Linked DNA regions of Homo sapiens: region 2 is linked to region 1. Evidence: promoter capture Hi-C in 16 types of primary human blood cells and fetal thymus (Javierre and others, 2016). All regions are on one chromosome and are shown on one strand. The core of a region is centred on a gene start or on the middle of the fragment in contact, and the rest is flanking DNA. Distances in the headings are between cores, read along the strand shown. Region 1 holds the start of CAMK2D (calcium/calmodulin dependent protein kinase II delta). Region 2 overlaps LOC105377376 (a long non-coding RNA gene).

Region 1 (5,352 bases), core at 1,504-4,003:
TAGTAAGGCATGTATAATGAAATGTAAATACATTTGGCACTAACATCCAGTGTTATTATGTTTATAGGTCTACATTTCTACACTTTTTAGAATTTATCTCTATTTTGTAGCTATTCCTGAAATGATGTTGAAGTAGAACAACAACAACAAAGTCTTTGATCTGACTATTTTTTTTTTTTCAGACAGAGTTTTGCTCTTGTTGCCCAGGCTGGAGTGCAGTGGCGCGAATTCGGGTCACTGCAACCTCCCTCCTTCTCCCAGGTTCAAGCGATTCTCCTGCCTCACCCTCCAAAGTGGCTGGGATTACAAGCATATGCCACCATGCCCGACTAATCTTGTATTTTTATTAGAGACGGGGTTTTGCCATGTTGGCCAGGATGGTTTCGAACCCCTGACCTCAGATGATCCACCCGCCTCGGCCTCCCAAAGTGCTGAGATTACAGGCGTGAGCCACTGCGCCCGGCTAATCTGACTACTTTTTAAGGAGGTTCAAACTTCAGAAATAACTGTAAATATTTGTTCAAATAAGAGAAATATTTAGTCTAAAATATAAATCAAAGAAAGGGTACGTACAGATTAAGCAGTGTTTGCTGTAAAAAATGTACACATTTATTGTCTAATAATACATCAGTATTAAAACTCAGTTATGTTTCCTTTATTGTACTCCACAATTATAACCATTTACAATTATTGGTAGTTTAAATAACTGAGATAAATACTGTAATTATGTAGACTTCATTACTTGAATATTTAAGAAACAATTTTCTTCCCAGATGTAAATTTTTATATTACCTTTATTGTTTTAATTTTACTTTTTCTGTTTCATTCTTAGATTCAGGGAAAAATATTAAATTATTTCATTATCACCTTGGAGCCACATTGCTAAATAGTTCAGATATTACAAATCTTTAGCCAAGACCAAATTGTGTTTTTTTTTTCAATTTATAGCCCAATTATTAATATTTAGAGACCATGTTTCTTTTATGCAGTTCTTGGTATCATCTTTTTCTATAGCACTACATTTTACACAGTTATTTCTTGCCTTTTACGGCTGGGAATCAAAACACATACGAACTTCAATTTTGTTGTAATAAACGTTAAAATTTGTGAACATTTTTAGTACTTCAGTAAAAAGCTCACTCATTGGCAGAAGCGTTCCCCAGATCAGGAAAAAAGGAATTAGGATTATCTATGACCACAAAGTAACATTAATTAATAGCAGTCTTTGGGAGCAAGCAGCAGCGCCTTTAAATCTTAGATTCTCTTGTGTCTGCAAATTATCTTTTATCTTTCAGCTGTGAAATTTTGTCTATGAAGTAATACCACGAGCAAATTAGCAATAGGATTGCAAGGTTTTTATAGTCCCGTGCTGTAGAACAATTGGCAGTAATTTGAAAAAGACCGTCCATAACGCTGTTTTTGGTCTGCGGCTAAATTTGCAATTGCATAGTTTCATTAAGGAGAACTGGAAAGAGGGCCCAGAAGTTGTTCTAGCAATCGGCAGCAGTTTATCTATTTTAAATCGTAATGCATACTTTTTTTTTCCTCCTACTGAAAACAATGGCAGATATGCTAAAGGGAAGGACACATTCTTGAACTGCTAAATGGTTTTTCCAGATAGCCATTTACGGAGTGCACTCAATTGCCACTATCTGGCTGAAAGCAAAAGCACACACGACGGCCCCTTTTCTTTTTTCCCTTTGCAAAGCGAAACAGTCTAGACGTGTTCACGTGATGTGAATGACGTCAGCCCCCGCCGGGTCGCGTGACCGACACCCAGCCTTCCTACTACCTCCCCCTGACCGCCAGAGTGGGAAATATCGCGAGAATTCGCCTTACTATCAGAACTTACTGAGGTTGCAGGGGAGTTACTCAGAAGGGAAGGGAAGGTGTGGTTGTGCGGCGGAGTTTTTGCTTTCATTCTTTTAACGTTCACAGCCAAAGCAAAGGCCTTTGGGGATTGCCAGAGTCTCAGCCACCATCCTGGAAAACAGCGGGGGAGGTGGGCCTGGAGGTGGCAAGTGTAATGTGGCTCAGGGGCCGTCATTGCCCCTTGCAGAAGGGGCTGCGGGGGAGGGAGAAAACCTGCGCCCGGTTCTGGGGAGCTGGCGACGCAGTGAACCCTGCTGAGGCTGGGTTTTGCCCCGACAGTCGCTGGTGGCTGTGGGAAGGGTTGGGACCCTTCTCTGAGAGCAGTGAACAGCCCACATCCGGCCCCTGCTGTGTCAACTCTGAGCGGCGTGGAGATGAAGTGGTTGCTCTCCCTTGCTCGGCCCACCGGGTGTCGTGGCCCGGGAACCGGCCTGGAGAAGTCCCTGCTGCCCGGCGCCCAAAACAGGGGCGTGGGCTTCCGCGACCCAGGGCGGCTGCCCCGGGCCATCCTCGAGTTGCCCTGCATCTTCCCGCTCAGTCAGCCCCAGATTGAGGCAGCCTTCTCTGTGCGGGTTTAAATGGGTAACTGTGACTTCTCGCCTCATTCACCCAAACCTCCAGTCTTCTCCCCCGCACATCCTCCTCCACCCACCTGGTTTCTCCCTAGACTGGTGTGCTCGTGTGTGCAACCAAAGGAGGGAGTGCGAGAGATCCACGAAGGGACAGGCTTGGAGTCGCTAGAGGGAGGTGTGGGACCAGCGAGGAGGGGGCTTCGCCAGGGAGGGGGTGCTGGCAGGCGGAGGGAGCGGCGGGAGGAGGCGCCGGAGGAGGAGACGGAGGCCTGGGGACGGCAGAAGAGGCTTCGCCTGAGCCGAGCGCTCTTTCTCTCGCCGCGCCGTCTTGAAGCCGCGCGGGCTCGTGAGCAGCGCGAGGCCGCCAAGGTGCCTCGCTTCGCCGGAGCCGCTGCCGCCCGCCGGAGGGAAGCCGGCCTCGGGCGCGCACGCTCGTCGGAGCCCCGGCGCGCCCCGCGCCTGAGCCTGCTGACAGCGGCCGCTGGGCTCAGGCTGTCCGCTCTGGGCTCCGCGGCCTCGGCCCCGCTGCACTCCACCTCCGCCCCCTCGGACTCCCTCCCCTCTGCTTCTACTCCTCCTGCTCCAGTGCGGATCGTTTCGCAACTGCTTGCCACTCGTCCCGTGCCTGGCTGTTTTTCCATTTCCCGGCCCCCTCTTCTTGAGTACTTTACCCCCTGCATTTGGGGACAGGGACTGGAAAAGGGGCGGGTGGAGCGTCCAGTGGAGAAGAAGGAAGCGAGGCCCGCAGGAGGAGGAGGATCGGCGGACTGTGGGGAGGAGACCCCACGCCACCCTTTCTGGTCATCTCCCCTCCCGCCCCGCCCCTGCGCACACTCCCTCGCGGGCGAGCTACTTTCGGACCAGGAAAGTAAGAGCGGCCCTGGGTGACAGCGCCGCGGGGCCAGTCCCGGGGTTAGCCGCGCGTCTGCTCGCTTCTGGTCCGTCGCGCTCCCAGCCAGGGCACAGCCCGGACCGAGGATGGCTTCGACCACAACCTGCACCAGGTTCACGGACGAGTATCAGCTTTTCGAGGAGCTTGGAAAGTAAGCACCTTTGCCCGGCATCCGCATATCCCCTTTCCAGCTGAGGGCGGGTCGCGTTGCCCCCGACCCACCGGCCTCCGTCTTGGGGCGAGGGAGTTTGGGAGAGGAATGGGAGGAGGGCCCCTGGTTTGTCAGCTCTGGGGAAGGTGCTGTCTTAATAAAGGGAGGGAGCACAGAAGGGGTAGGACCCTTACTCCAACTGTGGCTCATTTTGATGGTCCCTAGCCCACCTTCTCCCGGTCCCCCACCCTCCTGCACTGAGAGACTTAGTGAATTTACGATCTCTGCAGTTGTAGCTATCATCCTGAGAAGTGTGCGCGCGCGCCTGTGTGTAATGTGTGTTTGGAGAGGAAATTAGAACCCATGTAAAATGCAACATAGATCATGTTTTCTGTAAATAGAGATGCCTCCTGGTTAGCCGGCGTGTCGGCCGTATGACCCAGGTACTGATGAGAACTCACAGCCTCAGACGGTGCCATATTTATTGATGCCGAAAGTTCAACTTGGCATAGAGTCTATTTCGCATCCAGTAGTTGTTCTGTCCAGGAAAAGGGCCACCCAACAGAACCCAACCCCTTGCCCTATATCCAGTGTTGTTCTTTGCACCAGATTACCGCTCACCATCATTCTTCCTAGGATTTACGTGTGCATCTTTGCGTTCTCTGGGAGGATTTATTTATACAGGCAACGGAAAAGCCCTCTGGAGACTGAGAGCGCTCTTAAGCGTAGCCTAGCATTGTGTAAAACCACCTCCTTCACCCGACTGGCAGAACTACTTGGAGATGTTAGGGAAGGAGGCAGGAGACCTACTGAGGACTTATGCAAAGGGACCTAGGGGCCAAGCCGTGAATGCTGATTTTTGTAGCATGGAACCCAAACCCAATTCCTCTTTCACTAGTTTCGACTGTTACTTTTATGAAAGGAGTGCGTTTATATGTATGTTGTTGGTTTATACTGTAATTAAAGGAAAGGTAAATATTTTTAAAAGTAATAAAAATTACATATGTATATATTGTCTGGTGTTAAAACATGGAGAATATGTCGGAAGAGCAGCTTAATTCAAATCTCTCCCCTCCCCCAGTCCAAAACAAGGCATAGAGAAATCACCATACCAGGATTTGTTAAACCACACTAATGTGCTCAAGATTTATATTTTAATGAAAATAATCGTCATGTTTACTTACTTGGAACCACATTAATTTTTTGTTTCCTACCAAAATAAGTAGGCAGCAGATTTTTTTGCTGCTCCTCGTCTGCTCTGTTCTGTGCAGGGTTTTTCTCAGAGCATTTGGTGCTGTGAGTGTGAACTGTAAAATGTTTTCAAATTTCTTGTGCAAACAAGAGCGGTCATAATTGGCAGTTCCTTTCATTTTGTTGATTAATAATGTGTGCTCCCAGTTAAATAAAATTTACTTTTATTCTTCAACATTAAAGAAAGTCTGGGTTTCCAGGAAGAATTGTTCATTTACTGGATATTACTGTACTTCACTGGCAATCCACTAAAATCAATAAAAATGCTCAGATTTTATAAATTTTTAATGAAATATTATATCTGTTATATTAATGACCTGCTAATTATTGGTTTCCAGGGGGGCATTCTCAGTGGTGAGAAGATGTATGAAAATTCCTACTGGACAAGAATATGCTGCCAAAATTATCAACACCAAAAAGCTTTCTGCTAGGGGTGGGTATTTTCAACCACATATATTGGTTAATTTTGTATTTGTCATGTTGATTATAGGTTCTGTTGTATGTAAATATATCATGTAGTTATAACTGAACTTTAGACTTAGGTATCATATTATATATTAAGATTATTTTCTTCCTGAATGCTTCTTGGTCTGTACAGCTTAAAAATACATGGA
Region 2 (5,352 bases), core at 2,069-4,568, 260 kb before region 1:
GAAAAAAAATTGGGAGATGAGAAGATGAAAGAACCAAAAAGCCTCCATTTTACATGTTTTATTTATGTGGATGCTGAAGTCACAAATAAATATACTGTACAGAATTTAGAAATCTATATGCTTGAATAAAAGGGCCTTAATACATAGGTAAATAGACAACAGTAACAAAAAGATAGAGGAGGCATATGCATCAAGAACGGTGGTAGGCATTTGCAGGAGGGAGATGGATAAAGAGCTAATATTGCAAACCAAAATCAAAGAAGACAAGTCAACCCTGTCATACCTCATGTAATCACTACGAGAAAGAACAACTTTCTTTTGAGAGGGCCAAGTTGAGCTGACAATAAAAAGGGACAGGCAGTTTTTTGATAAAGCAAGAATATAAGGAAATGTTCCTAGAAAAGATGACACATTTGAGGTGGTTTTGTTACGAAGAACAAGAGAAATATGATGGAAGTGAGAGGATCAAATTAAGGGCTGGGCAGAACCGTATAGGGATGAGTTTTGTGAAGATAGATGTTCTTGTAGTCAAATGTCTAGCTATGACTAAGCAATGCAGGACTATTGATCCAACTCTCAGAGGAAGTAGAGCATCTAGAACTATTCATCTTGTACAAAAATATTACCCTTGATGGTATAGAAGCTTATTAGATAGAAGTTCCACAAGGCTTGGACTAATGTGACTATGCATAGGCAACAATTCCCCAAGGCGAGGGGCAGGGTGCTAGCACTCACACGCTGCTAGCAGCTTCCTAGGACTTTGAACCATATAATGTCCCTTCAGCTGGCACGTATTTTTCACAGCCTTTCTCAGGTTTCACTTCCTGAAGTGAAACTTTACTCACCTTTCTAGACCACAGTGTTTGAATTCCTATTAAACTAATGGTCTGCACCATTCTTGTTATTTAACTACATAGCAACTTTGCTAGAAAGTATATCATACATATTTAACTCATTGTTACAAGTACCTAGTAAGTCTACAAAATGAGATATTACATTTTATCCGCAGGTGAAGGTACACATTTCTCAAATCACAAGTTCAGGTCTACTAATAGCCCACTCAATTTTCCACAACTAAACTCAGTGTTTGCCCATTCTTCTTGATGGGAGAAATTTAATCTGAACAATTTCAAATATATTGAGACATTTATAGGTTTCCCAAGAACATATAAATGGTATCTATAAGATATTTTCATCTATGCTGGCATATTGGGTTAAAAAGTTATAGTTTAAAACTCAAAAGAATCAATTTAAAACAAATTAATCATTACCTCATACAGCTCATGATGGAACACTTTATCTCAGAAGGATATTTAGGCCGGTCATTCACTCAACAGATATTTAGTATCTGCTATTGGTACCAAAGCTTACATTAGACACAAGAGACACAGGTAGGAGACAAAAGTTAATCGGACACAGTTGCTTGTCTCAGAAAACTTGGAACATATTAATATAAATATAAATTACTTCCCATAACTACATGGTTTATATTTTTTATAGGTATGATGAATCTATAAAATGACATTAGTATATACTATTTACGAGGACAGGATGGAGTGAATAAGAAAGAGAGGAAAGGAGAGGGGGATTTGATGCAAGTCCTCAACTTTTGAGGATGATGTCAAGAAAGAAAAACCACCCCTTCCATAGGACCACCATAACCACTGTCAGTATCTAACAGCCCACCTCAAAATAAACAGATCAGAGGAGCAGATCTTATGTTTTTACACTCTAAAGTCAGATATTTTCAATAACAGTGAAGGTAATCTGTCTTCCTGTGGAGTACAAGACTCAGTGTGCGACCCAACTACCATTAAGGGGTTATTAAAAGTTTTTATCAATAAACCATTGCATTTATGATATTGTAAATGAGGTACTAATTGAAAAAGGCATCTGCCAGATAAGGCATGTGTATAAGTGGCAGGCCCCACACATGATCCTTTAAAAATGGTAAACCAAAAATTTAGGCATTGTCTAATTTATGATAGTTACATTCAAAAATGATTATCATTCATTTATGTCCTCAAAAGAAAATACTACACTTTTACTATGCATTCATCACCTAGAAGATCTTAAAGTATTTGTTTATATTGATTTATATTTCCAAGCAGTATTTTTTACCATCTGAAAACAAATATTTCAATGTTTCTTCTGTTTTTTAACACAGAAAAATTTTTCTTCCACCCAGGTGTATAAGCAAAAGTACTTGACTTTAATATAGCAAATATGCAGAGGTAGAAAAAAATAATTTTATTAAGTGCTCATCATTATTCATAAAATACACAGCAAATGTGACAAAATCATAACAATTTATATAATACTGGAATAGTCTATAAAATATGGTTGTCCTTTGGTTTAAATGATACAATTTTGAGATTAAACGTGTTTTAACAAGCATTTTTTTTTAAACTAGTAGACCATGGGGATAAAAAACCTAGAATGGTCATGAAGAAACTAATAGAAGCCAAAATAAGCAAGACACAAAGTATGCCTTATTTAATTAAAGTTCAGATGAACTAATGTACACATACTACAAATTTAAGCTGTCCCTAGGCATTACTAACCTATATAACCAAAGCTTACATAGTTGATTTTTGTTGGGAAATCTAGCATTACCACAGTTTGTAGTCAATATTCAATGAGTTTTCTGACTTTTGCTCCTTTTTCTTCTAGGTCAGAGAGTCAAGTTACTAGTCAAATAATCGCCTAAAAATTAATTTACAAATGGTAATTACACTTAATCTTTAAAGGAAAAAAACCAACACTGAAAGTAACAGGTAGGTGGTTTTTAAAACTTAAATATATGTGACCTCAATAAAAGAATTCCCATTTTAATTAATTTGCTAAGAGTTAATTACCTAACCTGTATTTATGTCCCAAGCTAAAATGTATGTGATAAAAAAGATGATAGATAGAAGATAGATGATAGATAGATAGATGATAGATAGATAGATAGATAAGCAACATACAATACAGGTTATTTCTGTTATATTGTTAATAATCACATACATATGCATATATAACATATACACACAGAAATCTTAAACAGAAATTTTGATGGCATTCTTAGAACATCATAAAATGCCTATTTATTTAGTGCCCCTTCTATTTTTGACTTAGACTAAATTTGACTTTTGAATTGTGATTCAGACTTCTTCCTACTTACCATAAAAGAAAGAAAAGACTTATCCATATTCACCAGAATAGAGAAACACATTAAAATGGGAGGAAGTAAAACTGACTACACTTGTTTAAAGAGGAAGCAAAAGCTAGTAGATCTTTCAGGTTGGGCCAATATAAAGTATGCTTTGCAAGAATATAGTAAACAAATATCTTCTTTGAAATGGGTTTACGTTTCCACTCACTCCACACTCAAACATCACAATATTTGTAAGGAACATTTTCATGGGTAGAAAATGAATACAAAATTAATTTAAAATCCAGATTTTATTTGAAAATTAAATATATTTCATTTAGAACTAAGTTACGTAACAAAGAAATTGTGAAGGACCCTTTCAGTTACTTTGTTCTTGCAATAATACAGATACAATAAATTGCCTAAGTGACAGCTGTTCTATTGGGAAGTTAAAGGCAAAGGTGGAAGAATGTTTCCTTCAGCATCTTCATCCATGGTCTCTAAATTAATTTAGCAATTCTTCTATTAAATAGAACCAATTATAAAACCTAGAGTAAGCTCTCCATCTCTGTTAGTTATTGGGTTAGTTTGCTAAGGTTGCCATAACAAAATACCAAAAACTGCATCACTTAGATTAAGGCCCATATCACCATTCCCATTTTAATGTAATCACCTCTGTAAAAGCCTTATCTCCAAAACAGCTTCATTCTGAGGTACTGTGGGTTAGGATTTCAACATATGAAGTTGGAGGGGATACAATTTAGCCTATAACAGTTATTATTAGTGTCATCATGTTCATTACATTAATTCATTTAAAAATATTGTTTTACTTAATCTTCATAGCTACACTAAAAGGTATGTATTTTTTTTATCTCCATTTAACAAAAGATTCTAAGACCTCAAGTATCTCCATCAAGCTTCTTAAACAAGAAGTGATGAAACAAGAATGCCTTCTGTGAAATTAAGTTTCTTCTGGAAAGTGTGTAACCAAGAAAACTTCCAATGTGGACATTTTTCCATATCATCACTCTTCCCAACCTGCTGCTAGGAAAGTCCAGCTTGTAGCTTAAGAACATGCTCCCTTTAGACAGGCACAGCAGCCACACACAAATTAACACTAAAAATTGTTGGCCCAGCAAAAGCTCTCCAATTCTTATTTGCAAACTCTTTCTCACTGGTCAGGATTCAAAGCTTCAATCCCAAAGAGTTGATGAGCATTTATTCTTCATCACAAGTCTTCTTGCTTCAGAGTTTCAGCTTTAATATTTGGAAATGAAAAGCCAGTGTCTTGAAAATGGCCCAAAGGGCATATCTAAATACGTGAAACTGAAACACTCATACTTGCTTGGGAGCGTAGTATGGTTACCATGGCAGCAGCTTTGGGGACAGACAGCAGACAGCAGCAGCTGCAGATTCTTTTAGCCGTATTACATATATTATATATATGTAATATATATGATTATATACATATAATATACCAAGTATTCAAATAGTCTGTGCCACAAAACAACATTTCCACCAATGATAGACCACATGTACAATGGTGGTCCCATAAGATTATACCACATTTTTACTGTACCTTTTCTATATTTAAATATGTTTAGATACAAAAATACTTGCTGTTGTGTTACAATTGCCTACAGTGCTCAGTACAGTTACATGCTGTGCAGGATTGTAGCCTAGGAGCAATAGGCTATACCATATAACCTAGGTGTGTAGCAGGCTATACCATCTAGGTTTATGTAAGGACACTCTATGATGTTCACACAATGACAAAATCACCTAAAGATGCATTTCTCAGAATGTACTCCCATCATTAAGTGACTATATACTATATACTATAAGCTATTCAACTGAGCCCAACAAACATACTCTGGAACCCTCCTCTGTGGATTCTACGTTTGGGAAGTTCGTTATTTCACTAAGACTAAGCTCTTATCAGAAGTTCCAGTACTTTCTTCAGTCCATAGAGATCTCTCTGCAGGCCTCCACATCACATTATTCTATCAGACCACACAGATGTCTTTATTCTTGTTTTTCTTTCACTCCTTATTTCATTCCTTTCTCTTTTCTCTAAGGAATAAAGTAACTGAAAAAAAAAGTGCTTTCCAACACAATGTCCGGCAAAAATCTAATGAGTTATTTTATTCTGATTTAGAAGCATTTAGATGTAACAAAGAAAAATTGTTAGGGAAATAATACTGAAAGCTATGACT

The links. Contacts are between HindIII fragments. The CHiCAGO score rates a contact against its expected background, and 5 or more counts as called.
Region 2: a fragment that was not itself captured here is called in contact with the fragment with the promoter of CAMK2D in region 1 in 1 of 17 cell types (activated CD4 T cells); the score reaches 5.6 in activated CD4 T cells.

The regions. Positions count from the first base shown.
Region 1 is chr4:113,759,139-113,764,490 of GRCh38, reverse strand. It overlaps CAMK2D (calcium/calmodulin dependent protein kinase II delta), which reads left to right and starts at 2,753. Exons shown (of 21, transcript NM_001321571.2): 1 at 2,753-3,487; 2 at 5,077-5,171. The coding sequence starts at 3,423. RefSeq lists enhancers at 1,486-2,024, 2,025-2,563 and a silencer at 2,557-2,966. The HindIII fragment of the contact is 14,700 bases long and covers 1-5,160 here.
Region 2 is chr4:114,020,791-114,026,142 of GRCh38, reverse strand. It overlaps LOC105377376 (a long non-coding RNA gene), which reads left to right. Exons shown (of 3, transcript XR_939088.2): 3 at 2,674-2,777. Among named protein-coding and RNA genes, the nearest start is that of ARSJ, 44 kb to the right of the region's middle. The HindIII fragment of the contact is 1,475 bases long and covers 2,581-4,055 here.